Linked DNA regions of Homo sapiens: region 1 is linked to region 2. Evidence: promoter capture Hi-C in 16 types of primary human blood cells and fetal thymus (Javierre and others, 2016). All regions are on one chromosome and are shown on one strand. The core of a region is centred on a gene start or on the middle of the fragment in contact, and the rest is flanking DNA. Distances in the headings are between cores, read along the strand shown. Region 1 holds the start of C16orf90 (chromosome 16 open reading frame 90). Region 2 holds the start of LINC00921 (long intergenic non-protein coding RNA 921).

The links. Contacts are between HindIII fragments. The CHiCAGO score rates a contact against its expected background, and 5 or more counts as called.
Region 1: a contact is called between a fragment that was not itself captured here and the fragment with the promoter of LINC00921 in region 2, in 15 of 17 cell types (megakaryocytes, erythroblasts, naive CD4 T cells and 12 more). The highest score is 8.1, in megakaryocytes.

The regions. Positions count from the first base shown.
Region 1 is chr16:3,493,289-3,499,951 of GRCh38, forward strand. It overlaps C16orf90 (chromosome 16 open reading frame 90), which reads right to left and starts at 2,201. Exons shown (of 3, transcript NM_001080524.2): 1 at 2,088-2,201; 2 at 1,236-1,589; 3 at 196-699. The coding sequence starts at 2,133. The coding sequence ends at 551. It also overlaps a transcript of CLUAP1 not described here and the pseudogene RPL18P12. The HindIII fragment of the contact is 4,404 bases long and covers 3,128-6,663 here.
Region 2 is chr16:3,258,692-3,265,871 of GRCh38, forward strand. LINC00921 (long intergenic non-protein coding RNA 921) reads left to right here and starts at 5,077. Exons shown (of 2, transcript NR_033904.1): 1 at 5,077-7,077. RefSeq lists enhancers at 5,138-5,297, 5,738-5,837, 5,988-6,057 and a silencer at 5,318-5,497. The HindIII fragment of the contact is 6,272 bases long and covers 723-6,994 here.

The DNA.
Region 1 (6,663 bases), core at 4,080-6,579, 230 kb after region 2:
GCCAAGCTCAGCAGTGTCTCATCCAGGAAGCTCTCACAGACAAGTATGGTGTTCCCACAGGCCCTTGCCCTAGCTCACGCCTCTCATGCCCTGGCAACTAAGAGTGGGGGCGCGGCAGACCCATCCCTGGAGAGACACAGGACTGTTTTTCTCACCAAACTGGCCTGATGACAGACAGGCAGATGGACAAGAACGTGCAGGCCTTGGCTTTTATTGAGATCAGAGCTGTGGGCTCCCCGGCCTCTCAGGGAGGCGGTGGCGGGGGGGCCTGATTCTGCACTCAGCCCGGCCTCCCAGGTACAAGTGGCTGACTGGAGTCTAAGCAGGCTGCAAGGGCACGGCCATGCTTCTATTGCTTCTGCCCCTCCCTCGGAACCTCCTCCTCCTCCCTCTCCCCATCACATTCTCCCGAGGCCCAGGCCTGGGCGCTGGGCCGCTGCCTGGGCCACCCCATGTGGCAGGGCCACTGCCGGGGGCCGAGCCCCTCCTGCTCAGGCTGCCTCCTCGGCCATCCTGCCCCTCCTGTACCCAGTCCTGGCACTCGGGATCCCTATGGCCTCTCCAGGGCCCCAGAGCGGGTTCTCTTGCACAAGGGACACATGGCCTCTTCCCAGGTCCCCCAGGACCTCTTGGGCCTGAGCCTAGAAGGACTAGGCTGGGGGAGGGCACCCTTGTCTGGGTCCATGCTGGAACTGGAAGCTGAGGAAAGAGGAGAGAAAGGAGTCACTTGAGGGACCCAAGGGGAGGCTGGGGGGGAGGCTGGCAGCCCACCCTGGGGTTTCCAGAATCCGATATTCTTGAAAACAGAAGGGAGGAGGGCAATGCTTCCTCCTTAACAGAATCCCCAGGGGAGGGAGGAGGTTGAGGGAACAGAATGGTTCAAGCTGGAAGGACCCTCATCTAACCTGAACCCTCATTTTACAAGTGAGAAAACTGAGGCCCAGCAAGGGAGACAGATTCCAAGGCCCCTCACCGAGTGTGGAGCTGGGGCAGTCACCCAGCCCTCCCTCCCAGATCCTCCCTTTTTCTCGCACCGCTTTGTCCCTGGTGGATTCTCCAGACCCCGCTTAGCTGTGCGTGATGCAGAGATGGGGACAGATTCATCAAGATCTTGGCCTTCTGGGGCATGGTGCCACTGTGGAGGCTTGGGAGTGGAGAAGGGCCCGCCTGAGGCCCCAGCCCAACCATCCCCTAGGGTCTTCCCCCGTGCCCAGTCCTGCCTTGACAGAGCTCACCACTGCTTCCCAGGCTGTCCCTGGGCAATCGGGCTTCCAGAAGGGCTGAACAGAGGCTGTTACGTGGGCCCAGAGTCCCCTGTGGCAGGTCCAGGGCCCAGGCTGTGCCCTCAGGCTGTGGCAGGCAGCCCCCAGCCATAAGCCGGCCCAGCCAGTGGCTCTCACACTGGCCAGTGGGTGGCGGGTGGCTCTCCAGGTAGAGGCCCAGGCCCCGGAGGTGGCGCAGCCGGAAGTTCTTGGGCTTGCTTCCCTGGGCACTGGGGCACTGCGGCTGCGGGGACCCCAGGCCCCCCTCGTAGATGTTGGGGGGTGCGTCAGGGTGGCCGGGGCGTCCTTGGGCCTGGCTCACTGCATCTGCAGAGGAGACAGCGGGAGGGTGGTGGCCAGCCCCCCACAGCAGCCATGAGGGGAGGGTGCAGTCACATACCTCTGAGACCAGCTCACATGATGGGCTACACCCCCAGCCAACCTGGCCTCAGTTTACCTGTGTGTCAAATAGTCTCAGTCCACTGCCTCCCCTGCCCATGCCCAAGACACGACTCCTCTTCCCACTCCCAACCAACAGGGAGGCCTGGGAAGCCTCGGGCCTTGGTACTAAGAGTGCTTTCAGGACCTCAAGTCCTTTCTACTACCCTGTTCTGCCCGCTACCCTAGGAAGAGTATTCTGGTCCCCACAGAGAAATTGCACAGTGGGTTTGAGAGAAAGTGGCCAGCCCAGGGGCTCATGGCCTGGCCCAGTGGCCATTCCCCTCTCCCAAGCATACATGTCCCTGAGGCCACCCCTCGGCTTTGGGCCCAGGTGGGGACAGAAGCCTATCTCTCTTCCTGCCACTCCTCCCCACAGCCCGGCACCTTCTCTTATGTGCAGCTCAGAAAATGCACAGACCAAGGCTTCCATGGAGGGCCAGTGTGGTGGGGAGGAGCAACCAGGACTTGGGTGCAGCAGGGCCCTGCTCTCCCCTGCCTAGGGGGTACATTGGCAGGTCTCCCCTGGCAACTGGTTCTTATGACATCACGGGGAAGACTCCCAGCCTTCCTGGACCCCTAGTTTGGGAGAGGACAGTGCCCAAGGCAAGGGCAGGGTGAAAGAAAGGCATGGGAAGGGGCCAGAACCCTGGGGGAAGTCCCTGGTCCCTCTGGCTGGGGTCAGGCCACATAAAACAGACAGCTCTGGCAAACTGGAGAGTCCTTCTCTCAGGTGATCTCTTGGGGCCAGCTTCCTCATCTGGGGTGGGAAATGAGGGTTCAGGAGTACAGACCTAGGAAGACCTAGGTCGGTACTTTGAAAATGCTGAAAAGGGGCTGGGGGCGGTGGCTCATGCCTGTAATCCCAGCACTGTGGGAGGCCGAGGCAGGCTGATCAGTTGAGGTCTGTGGGAGGCCGGGGTGGGCGGATCATGAGGTCAGGAGATCGAGACCATCCTGGCTAACACGGTGAAACCCCGTCTCTACTAAAAATACAAAAAAATTAGCCGGGCGTCGTGGCGGGAGCCTGTAGTCCCAGTTACTCAGGAGGCTGAGGCAGGAGAATGGCGTGAACCCGGGAGGCGAAGCTTGCAGTGAGCCCAGATCGCGCCACTGCACTCCAGCCTGGGCTGCAGAGCGAGACTCCGTCTCAAAAAAAAAAAAAAGTTAAACATTCATCTTTCCGGACCTGGCCAAGCAGGAAGCGCCATCATGGGAGCTGACGTCCGCCACAAGAAGGACCTAAAGGTTCGGCGCAAAGAGCCCAAGAGCCAGGATATCTAACTGAGGCTGTTTGTTGGTCAAGCTGTACAGGTTACCGTCCAGACGAACTAACTCCACATTCAACCAGGTTGTGCTGAAGAGGTTGTTTATGAGTCGCACCAACCGGCCACCTCTGTCCGTTTCCCGGATGATCCGGAAGATGAAGCTTCCTGGCTGGGAAAACAAAACGGCCGTGGTTGTGGGGACGCTTAACGGATGACGCGAGGGTTCAGGAGGTGCCCAAACTTAAGGTGTGTGCGCTGCCCGTGACCAGCCGGCCCACAGCGGCATCCTCAGGGTGGGGGCCAAGATCCTGACTTTCGATCAGCTGGCCCTGGACTCCCTCAAGGACGGCGGCCCCGTCCTACTCTCCGGTCTTCGCAAGGGCCGACAGGTGTACCGGCATTTCGGCAAGGCCCTGGGAACCCCACACAGCCACACCAAACGCTATTTCCGCTCCAGGGACCAGAAGTTCGAGCGCGCCAGAGGCCTACGGGCCAGCCGAGGCTACAAAAACGAACCCTCTTATTAAAAAGATTTTGGATGCTGACAAAAAAACAAAAAGTTAAAACATTCAATTTTCTCTTGTCACAGACGACCTGATTTTTCTTTTTTTCTTTTCTTTTTTTTTTTTTTTAAGATGGAGTCTCACTTTGGCGCCCAGGCTGGAGTGCAGTGGCGCGATCTCGGTTCACTGCAACCTCCGCCTCCCGAGTTCAAGAGCTTCTCCTGCCTCGGCCTCCCCAGCAGGTGGGATTACAGGCACCCACCACCACGCCCAACGGATCTTTGTATTTTTAGTAGAGACAGGCTTTCGCCATGTTGGCCAGGCTGGTCTCAAACTCCTGACGTCAGGTGATCCGCCCACCTCGGCCTCCCAAAGTGCTGGGATTACAGGCATGACCCACCGCGCCCAGCAACCTGATCTTGTATGTAGGAAATATTAAATAATTCATACTTGAAAAAAAAAAATCCTGAACCTAGTAGAGCTTTTTCAGAGCTAATGAAGTTCAGAAAAATCTCAAGTCATAAAATCACCACACAAAAATTAATTGTATTTCTAGATACTAGCAAAGAATAAAAAGAATAAAATAGGAATACATTTAACCAAGGAGGTATAAGACAACTCTGAATACTATAAAACATTGCTGAGAGAATCTAAAGACTTAAATAAATTGGAAAGCATCACATGTTCATGGACTGAAGACTTAATATTGTTAAGATAGCAACACTCCCCAAAGTGCTCAGTACAATTCTTATCAAAATCAAAATGGCCTTCATGTAGTGTATTAGGCTTCTCCAGAGAAATATAGTCAGCAGAATGTATATAGATATTTACAGAGAAAATATTTATTAGAGGATAAATAAATCTCCTTATATAATTTTTTCTGAGATAGGGCCTTGCTCCATTGCCCAGGCTGAAGTACAGTGACATGATCACGGCTCACTGCAACCTCAACTTACCAGGCTCAGGCAATCCTCCCACCTTAGCCTCCCAAGTAGCTGGGACTACAGGTGTGCACCACCAGGCCTGGCTAATTTTTTAATTTATTTTCATTTTTTAATTTTTAATTTTTTAAATTTTTGCTGATGGAGATCTCACCATGTTGCCCAGAGCTAGTCTTGAACTCCTGGGCTCAAGTGATCCTCCTGCCTCCACCTCCCAAAGTGCTGGGGTGATAGGTGTGAGCCGCCGTGCCCAGCCAAGAGAAGATTTATTAGGGATATTGGCTTATGTGATTATCCGGGCTGAGAAGTCGCACAATATGCTGCCTGCAAGCTGGAGAACCAGGAAAACTGGTGCTGTAATTAAGTCTGGGTTCAAAAGCATGAGAATCTGGGTAGGGGTGGGGGTGAGGGCTGGTGTAAGTCCTGGTGTCCAGAAGTCCAAGAACCAGGAGCTCCAATGTCCAAGGGCACGGGAAGAAGGATGTCCCAGCCCATGAAGAGAGTGTGAATTCACCCCTCCTCTGCATTTTTGTCATAATTGGGCACCCAGCAGATTGGATGATGCCCACCACACTGGTGAGGGCAATCTTCTTTTTTTTTACTCAGTCTAGCAATTCAAATGCTAATCTCTTCTGGAAACGCTTACACAAGCACACTGAAAAATAATGTTTTACCAGCTATCAGGCATCCCAGTCAAGTTGACACACAAAATTAAGCATCACAAGCAGAAATGGAAAAGCTAATCCTAAAATTCATGTGAAATTACAAGGGAGCCCAAATAACCACAACAATCTTGGAAAAGCAAATCTTCAGAAATCAGAAACACGGCTGGGCATGGTGGCTCACACCTGTAATCCCAGCACTTTGGGACACTCAGGTGGTCAGATCACCTGAGGTCAAGAGTTTGTGACCAGCCTGGCCAACATAGGCGGGCGGATCATGAGGTCGGGAGATCCAGACCATCCTGGCAAACACGGTGAAAGCCCGTCTCTACTAAAAATACAAAAAAATTAGCCGGGTGTGGTGGTGGGCGCCTGTAGTCCCAGCTACTTGGGAGGCCGAGGCAGGAGAATGGCGTAAACCCAGGAGGCAGAGCTTGCAGTGAGCCGAGATCGCACCACTGGCACTCCAGACTGGGTAACAGAGCGAGACTCCATCTCAAAAAACAAACAAACAAACAAACAAACAACAACAACAAAAAAAAGTGAAAAGACAACCTATGAAATGGAAGAAAATATTGGCAAATCATATATCTGATAAGGGTCTCATAGGCAGAATATATAAAGAACACTTACAATTCAAAAACAAAAGGATGTTCAACCCAATTTTGAAATGGGCAAAGAAAATGAATAGACATTTTTCCAATGGAAATATACAAATGGTCATCAAACACGTAAAAAGATGTTCAACATCTTTAATCATCAGGGAAATGCAGGCCGCGTGCGGTGACTCACGCCAACATGGCGAAACTCCGTCTCTACCCAAAATACAAAAATTAGCTGGGCGCGGTGGCGCGCGTCTGTAATCCCAGCTCCTCCGGAGGCTGAGGCAGGAAAATCGCTTGAACCCTGGAGGCGGAGGTTTCAGTGAGCCGAGATTGTGCCACTGCACTCCAGCCTGGGCAACAAGAGCAAGAGTCCATCTCAAAAAAAAAAGTTCAAGTTGATCAACATCCTTTCAAGCCCTTGGCATTGTCAAGAGTTTTTTGTTGTTTTAGCCATTTTATCTAGATTTAATTTTTAGGTTTTTAACGTGTTACCTGATATTTTAGCCAGTTTAATAACTTCATAGTGATATCTCATTGTGGTTTTAATATGCACTTCTCTAATAATAGCCTTGATCATCTCTTCATTTGCATATTAGCCATCCATATATCTTCTTTTGTGAAGTAGCTTTTAAAATGTTTTCTCCATTCTCTAATTAGACTGTTTCTCATTATTGAGTGTTGAGAGTTCTTGATACATTCTGGATACACGTCTCTTTATCAGATATGTGTTTTGTGCATATTTTCTTCTAGACTGTGGCTTATCTTTTGTTTTTCTTAATAACACGTGAAGCAACATTTATGGGAGGCCATTGTTTTGGAGCGAGCTCCTGCACAAGGTACCAACGGACCAGACCAAACCAGAATGGAATCGCTAGTGCAAGGTGCCACGTAATCAATGCGAACTTAGAGACAGGCCAGTCTGCCAAAACACAGAAGATTCACTGCAACCAACAAAAGGGGCCCTGTCCACCTAGGCTGGCATAA
Region 2 (7,180 bases), core at 3,827-6,326:
TGTAGTGGCTCACACCTGCAATCCCAGCCCTTGGGAGGCTGAGACAGGAGGATTACTTAAGCCCAAGAGTTTGAGATTAGCCTGGGCAACATAAGGAGACCCTGCCTCTACAAAAAATAGAAAAAATATTAGCTGGGTGTGGTGGCACACACTGGTGGTCCCTGCTGCTACTCAGGAGGCTGAGGTGGGAAGATTGCTTGAGCCTAGGTTCAGGCTGCAATGAGCTGTGATTGCACCACTGCTCTCCAGCCTGGGTGACACAGCAAGACACCCTGTCTCAAAAAAAAAAAAAAAAAAAAAAAAAAAAAGTGGATGAAATGCACATTGATGGTGCAGACAGCAGATTTTTGGAATTTTTAGGCTGGGCCAGAAGAAGGGTGTTGAATGGGGTATCACTGGGGCCAGCACCCGTCCCTGACTCTGGACGGTGGCAACCCAGCACCTCCCAGGCAGTCTCCCACTACCAGATGGAGAAAGGATGAGACTGTGCAGTGACGCTGTGGGTGCTGTGTGATCCCATCTCGTCTGGTCAGAAAACTCCTCGGAGCTGATACCAAAACCCCATGACAGAATTGGGCAGGGAATGATACTTTCTGGTCTAAAGCAGGATATTTTGCAATTGCGGTGACACGTTTTGCAACAGAGGCTGCTCTGAGGCAGGACTTCTGGAAGGCAGTGTTTTGATGCCACTTTGGACTTTCTAGGGCAAGGCAGGCTCACAAAGCTTTTGTTTGGAGGGGTTCCAGTAATTTCTCACAGTGAAAATAGAATTATTGCCCTTCTAACGTCATTTAAGTGTTTAATAATCAAAGTGGAATGGTCATGGGCTGTCTTGTGTGCCCCTGCCATTGGATGTGTGACCTTATTTGGGGTGACATGGCAAATCTAAACCCAACAAAGCTGCTGCAAAGGGTCTACTCTCGGCTATTACTCCTGGGAAATGTGCGGCTCAGACACCACGACCTTCACTCCACTCCTGGTCACCAGGGGTTTCACTTTCTATGGCATTTACTTCTGCACATTTTGGGATTTAAAAAAATGAAGATTGTATTACTTTCGTAATAAGCAAAAAAGATAGTTTTAAAAAGTCTTTCAGACCAGGTGTGGTGGCGCACGCCTGTAATTTCAACACTTTGGAAGGCCGAGACAGGTGGATCACTTGAGGTCAGGAGTTCCAGACCAGCCTGGCCAACACGGCAAAACCTCGTCTCTAATGAAAATACAAAAATTAGCCAGGTGAGGTGGCCCGCGCCTGTAATCCCAGGTACTCCGGAGGCTGAGGTAGAACTGCTTGAACCTGGGAGGTGGAGGTTTCAGTGAGTCGAGATTGCATCACTGCACTCCAGGTTGGGCAACAGAGCAAGATTCCGTATTTAAAAAAAAAAAAAGTCTTTCACAATTAGCTTAACTTCTAAGGGAGTATCAGTCCCGTGCCCCTAAACCATCATGATAAAGGAGGTATATAGTATTTACTTATTTATTTACTTGATTTATTTTGAGACAGAGTCTCACTCTTATCACCTGGGCTGGAGTGCAGTGGCAAGATCATGGCCCACTGCAACCTCCGCCTCCCGGGTTCAAGCGATTCTCCTGCCTCTGCCTCCCGAGTAGCTGGCATTACAGGTGCCCGCCATTACACCCAGCTAATTTTTTGTATTTTTAGTAGAGACGGGGTTTCACCATGTTGGCCAGGCTGGTCTTGAACTCCTGACCTTGTGATTCGCCCGCCTCAGCCTCCCAAAGTTCTGGGATTACAGGCGTGCGCCACCGTGACCAGCCAACTATTTTTTCATAGATGATGAAATGTAGGCTTACAGGTAGGGTGACCAACACATTTTGTCTAGGAGCAAAACCCAATTTGCCCAGTCTTAGCACTGAAAGCCTAGTTCTGGGAACGACCACAGTCCGGGGAAATTGGGACAATTGCCCACCCTGTTTAGATGGGTTAATTGACATACTGAACACATGTCTAGCTAGGAAGAGGCACCACAGGGCCATTCATTTACTCTTGGAGCACCTGCTGTATGCCAGATGCTATTCTAGGTACTACTGATACAGAACTGAACAGAAAAAAACTTCTTGCAGTGCTCACATTCTTTTTTTTCTGATATAAATGCCCTTCAGAAGAGGCCACATTCTTTTTTTTTTTTCGAGATGGAATTTCACTCAGTCGCCCAGGCTGGAGGGCAGTAGCGCAATCTCGCCACTGCAACCTCTGCCTCCAGTGTTTGAGCGATCCTCCTGCCTCAGCGTCCCAAGTAGTTGGGATTATAGGTACCGACAACCACGCCTGGCTAATTTTTGTATTTTTAGTAGAGACGGGGTTTCACCATGTTGGCCAGGCTGGTCTTAAACTCCCGGCCTCAAGTGATTTACCCACCTCGGCCTCCCAAAGTGCTGGGATTACAGGCGTGAGCTGCTGCGCCTGGCTCAGAAGATCCCGCATTTTTTTTTTTTTGACGGAGTCTAGCTATATTGCCCAGGCTGGAGTGCAGTGGTGCTATCTCAGCTCACTGCAAGCTCCACCTCCCGGGTTCACGCCATCCTCCTGCCTCAGCCTCCCGAGTAGCTGGAACTACAGGCGCCTGCCACCACGCCCGGCTAATTTTTGTATTTTTAGTAGAGACGGGGTTTCACCGTGTTAGCCAGGATGGTCTCGATCTCCTGACCTTGTGATCTGCCCACCTCGGCCTCCCAAAGTGCTGGGATTACAGGCATGAGCCACTGCGCCCAGCCAAGAGCCCACATTCTTATAGGAAAGTGTGAATTGATATAAACAAACAAATACACAATGTATCAGGGAGTGATAAGTTGGGGGAAAAAACAGCAGAATAATAGGGTTAGTGAGTGCAGGGGATTGGTTTCATATTTTTTTATTTTTATTTATTTATTTAGAGACAGAGTCTCACTCTGTCACCCAGGCTGGAGTGCAGTGGTGCTATCTTGGCTCACTGCAACTTCTGCCTCCCGGGTTCAAGCAATTCTCCTGCCTCAGCCTCCCAAGTAGTTGGGATTACAGGCTCACACCACCATGCCAGGCTAATTTTTGTATTTTTAGTAAAGACGGGGTTTCACCATGTTGGCCAGGCCAGTCTCAAACAACTGACCTCAAGTGATCCAACCGCCTTGGCCTCCCAAAGTGCTGTGATTACAGGCATGAGCCACCGTGCCCCCTGGTTTCATATTTTAATAGGGCACTTGAAGAAGGCTTTTGTGCTTGAACAGAGACCCAAAGGAAGAGGAGTAAGCCAGGTATTCATTTTGAGGATGAGCAGTCTTTGCCTATTTACAGAGTGCAAAAGGGGTAACTTTGTGCTTAGTGTTTGAGGAAGAGTGGTGGCTGGAGCAGAGGCACGGAGGAGGAGTGGATGGAGGGGTTAGAGAGGGAGCTGGAGTCCCCTATCAAGTAGCAGGGCTCCCAGGACACAGCAAGGACTTGGCTCTTACTCTGAGATGAGGGGACACTGGAAAGTTTGAGCAGAGCAGTGACATAATTGGAGTTACGCTTTAAAAGAAACATTCTGGGCCGGGCGCGGTGGCTCACACATATAATCCAGCACTTTGGGAAGCCAAGGAAGGTGGATCACCTGAGGTCAGAAGTTCGAGATAAGCCTGGCCAACATGGTGAAAGCCCGTCTCTACTGAAAATACAAAAATTTGCTGAGTGTGGTGGTGATGTGCGCGTAGTCCCAGCTACTCTGGAGGCTGAGGTGAATCACCTGAACCTGGGAGGCGGAGGTTGCAGTGACCTGTGATCGCACCACTGTACTCTGGCCTGGGTGAAAGAGTGAGACTGTTTCAAAAAAAGAAAGAAAAGAAAAGAGAACACTCTGGCTTCCATAAGAGACAAGAGATGAGAAAGGTGGAAACAGAGAGGAGAAAGCAATCTATTGTCACAATGCAGGAAAGCGACTGCAGGGCCCTGAACCACTGTGGAGGCAGAAGGGTCAGATTCTGGGTGATTCTGAAAGCAGGGCTGACATGATAAGGGTAGACTGGATACTGGCGGGTGTGAAGATGCATCTAAGATACCTGTTTCTGGCCAGATTTTACAAAGGGCCCTTGTTGCTACCTTAAGGAGTTAGTGTTGAATCCTGCAGCAGCTAAGAGCTTCTGCAGGATCTCCCTCTCAACTTGGACCAACCCACCTGCCGATCCCAGCCCAGATCAATGAGATCTGCTGCCCAGTCCCCTACGCAGATAACACTAATTGTAACTGATCTTTCTGAGGGCACCTCCTGAGCAGCTTGGAAACGGAGGGAGAGGAGAGGAAGCCAGCTTCCCAAAGTGGGGTGTGGCAGGTGGCCTTAACCCTGCTGAAGGGCTGCAGTCATGGGGCTCTGAATAGATCCCCACACCACTCACCAATGAGCTTCATTTGGAAGGCGGTAACGTTAAACAAGAGGGTTTGTAAAAAATAAAGGCCTACACACATAATTTTTTCTGATTATTAAATCTAGGTGGAGAGTACGTGAGTATTCATGTTACTCTCTCAACTTTCTTGTGCTTAAAAATCTTAAAATAAAAACTTTAATACGCTCTGTCCTACCAATATTTATAGGAACCTGACTAGCAGCCAGGCTTTGGACACGCAATCCCCGGCCACCAAAGGGCTGACAGGCTAGTGAAAGGGGCAGAAAAATAACAAAACTGTGTCTGGAAGGCAGCTACTCCCTTTTTTTGTTTGTTTGTTTTTTGAGACGCAGTCTCACTCTGTCGCCCATGCTGGAGTGCAGTGGCGCGATCTTAGCTCACTACATGTGCCTCCGGGGTTCAAGCGATTCTCCTGCCTCAGCCTCCTGAGTAGCTGGGACTACAGGCGCGCGCCACCACGCCCGGCTAATTTTTGTATTTTTTAGTAGAGACAGGGTTTCACCATATTGGTCAGGCTGGTCTCGAACTCCTGACCTCGCGATCCGACCGCCTCGGCCTCCCAAAGTGGTGGGATTACAGGCGTGAGCCACCGCGCCCGGCCCTTTGTTTTCTTACCAACTAAGCAGCAGCACTGACACTGTTTCCTTTGAGGTTCCGTTTGCTGAATCCTGCCCTCTAAGGTGCTCCGCCCTTCCACTCCCCGCCCCGTGCTGCTGTCATTCCCACGCCTCACCCTGTTTTGCAACTTCTTGTTTATGAGCCTGGAAGCCACGAAGTGGTGGGAAATACGAGATTCAAATATCTGGTGGCCGTGTGACGTGAGTAAATTACTCGATTTTTCTCAGTTTCCATTTCCTATCAAATGGGTTGTTCTGGGAATTCGGGGAAGTAACAGTGCCGGGAACCGCGGGAGGAACCGCCAGCTGCGTCCTCGGACGTCCCCAAAGCCCAGGGCGGCGACTGGCACGACTGTCAGGGGCGCGTCTGTTAAGAGGACAGGGGGTCCCGCCCCGGCACAGCCGTCTCCTCCAGGACCCCTCCCGCCGACGCCCCACGGACCCCACGCCCGAGCGGAGACCGGCGCGAGTCCGGGGTCTCCGGTCCGGCAGCCCCTCCCTGGCCCGGCGCCCCAAAGGGAAGCGGCCTGGGGGAGGAGACGTGTGGAAAGAGCGGCAGAAGATAAAGAGGAAGTAGCGGTAGAGAATAAAAAGGAACTGTCCGCAGTGTGCCCGGACGCGGGGAGGCGCTGGGGTCAAGCGAGACCCGACCTGCACGCAATTCCCGCCGGGGTCCCGGCCTGCCTGCGGGAGGGAAAGGACCCAGGGCGGCTTCTGCCAAAAGTGCGGCTTCTGCCGAAAGTGCGTCTTCTGCCGAGGGGCCCACATAAGGCGCGACAGACACTCCAGCCCGACCCCGACGCCCCGCCCTCACGCATGCACATGCGCGGAACACTCCCAGAAACACATCTCCCAGAGCGCCCCGGGAGCACGCGAGCCAATTGGAGGGCGGATTAGCGGGGGCCCACGTCTCCCAGAGGTCTCCGAGTCGCGGCTCTGTTGGTCTGATTGGCAGCCGCAACAGCCTATAGCTGCTTTTCGCCGGAGGGGCCACGCGCCGTTTGCCGGGACTGAGCCGCTGTTGTCGCTGGTATCCCGGGAGCAGCGCCGGCAAGTGGAGTCGTCGTATTCCGGGCGGCCCGCGGCCCACGGGGATGGGACGTCCCGGGGCTGTGCTGACCCCAAAACCCTTCCACACTTTATTAGCCTGTCGCCCTTCTTTCATGTTTACAGCAAATATTTTCCGAGTGCCTAATGTGTCCCACTTACTGTGCCACGTGCGAGGGTGCACGTGTCAGGCAAGATCGCTGTTCCAAGGAGGCTGAGAACAAGTAAATGGTAATTACCAGTTATGACCAAAGCTGTGAAAGGAACAGATACATCAGCCTAACAGCAGCACTGCCGTTTTCTCCCTTATAATCAGCAGAGGCGGGCTAGAGCAAGGATTCTCAAACTCTGCCCCCTCAGAACCCTAGAGTACGGTTGCTGAAACTTCTGTTTTTTCCTTTTGAACAAATCTAGTAACATGCTGTGAGCCAGAGAGGTAATGGTTTGGCTCAAAGAAGGCACATGCATCTGGTTTCTTTCTTCTTTTTTGAGACGGAGTCTCGCTCTGTCGTCCAGGCTGGAGTGCAGTGGCGCCATCTCCGCTCACTGCAAGCTCCGCCTCGCGAGTTCACGCCAGTCTCCTGCCTCAGCCTTCCGAGTAGCTGGGATTACAGGCGCCCGCCACCACGCCCGGCTAATTTTCACGCCCGGCTAATTTTTTGTATTTTTAGTAGAGACGGGGTTTCACCATGTTAGCCAGGATGGTCTCGCTCTCCTGACCTCGTGATCCGCCCGCTTCGGCCTCCCAAAGTGCTGGGATTACAGGCGTGAGCCACCGCGCCCGGCCCAGGTTTCTTATTTCAGGAGCTTCATAGGCATAGACCTCCCTCCTTCCCTCCTACCCCCTCCCCCCTCTCCCAACTAATGCCAGACCGGCCACTACTTTTTAACTGTTTTACATATTTAACCTTCAAGAAAGATTTCCTTTGATCCAAGTGTATTGCAGCCCACAAAAAAGCTTGGAAACCCAGCTAGATGGTCTGTTTTTCTAGTTCCTACATTGGATTTAAGTCCTACCCATCGAGACTACTGTCTTCAGGTAAGCATATCGAGGCTGTATTCACCTTCATGGTGTTCTCAGGGGCACTTTCTTACACAAATGATGGTAATCATCCTAGATCATTTCCCTGCCTGCCACACTT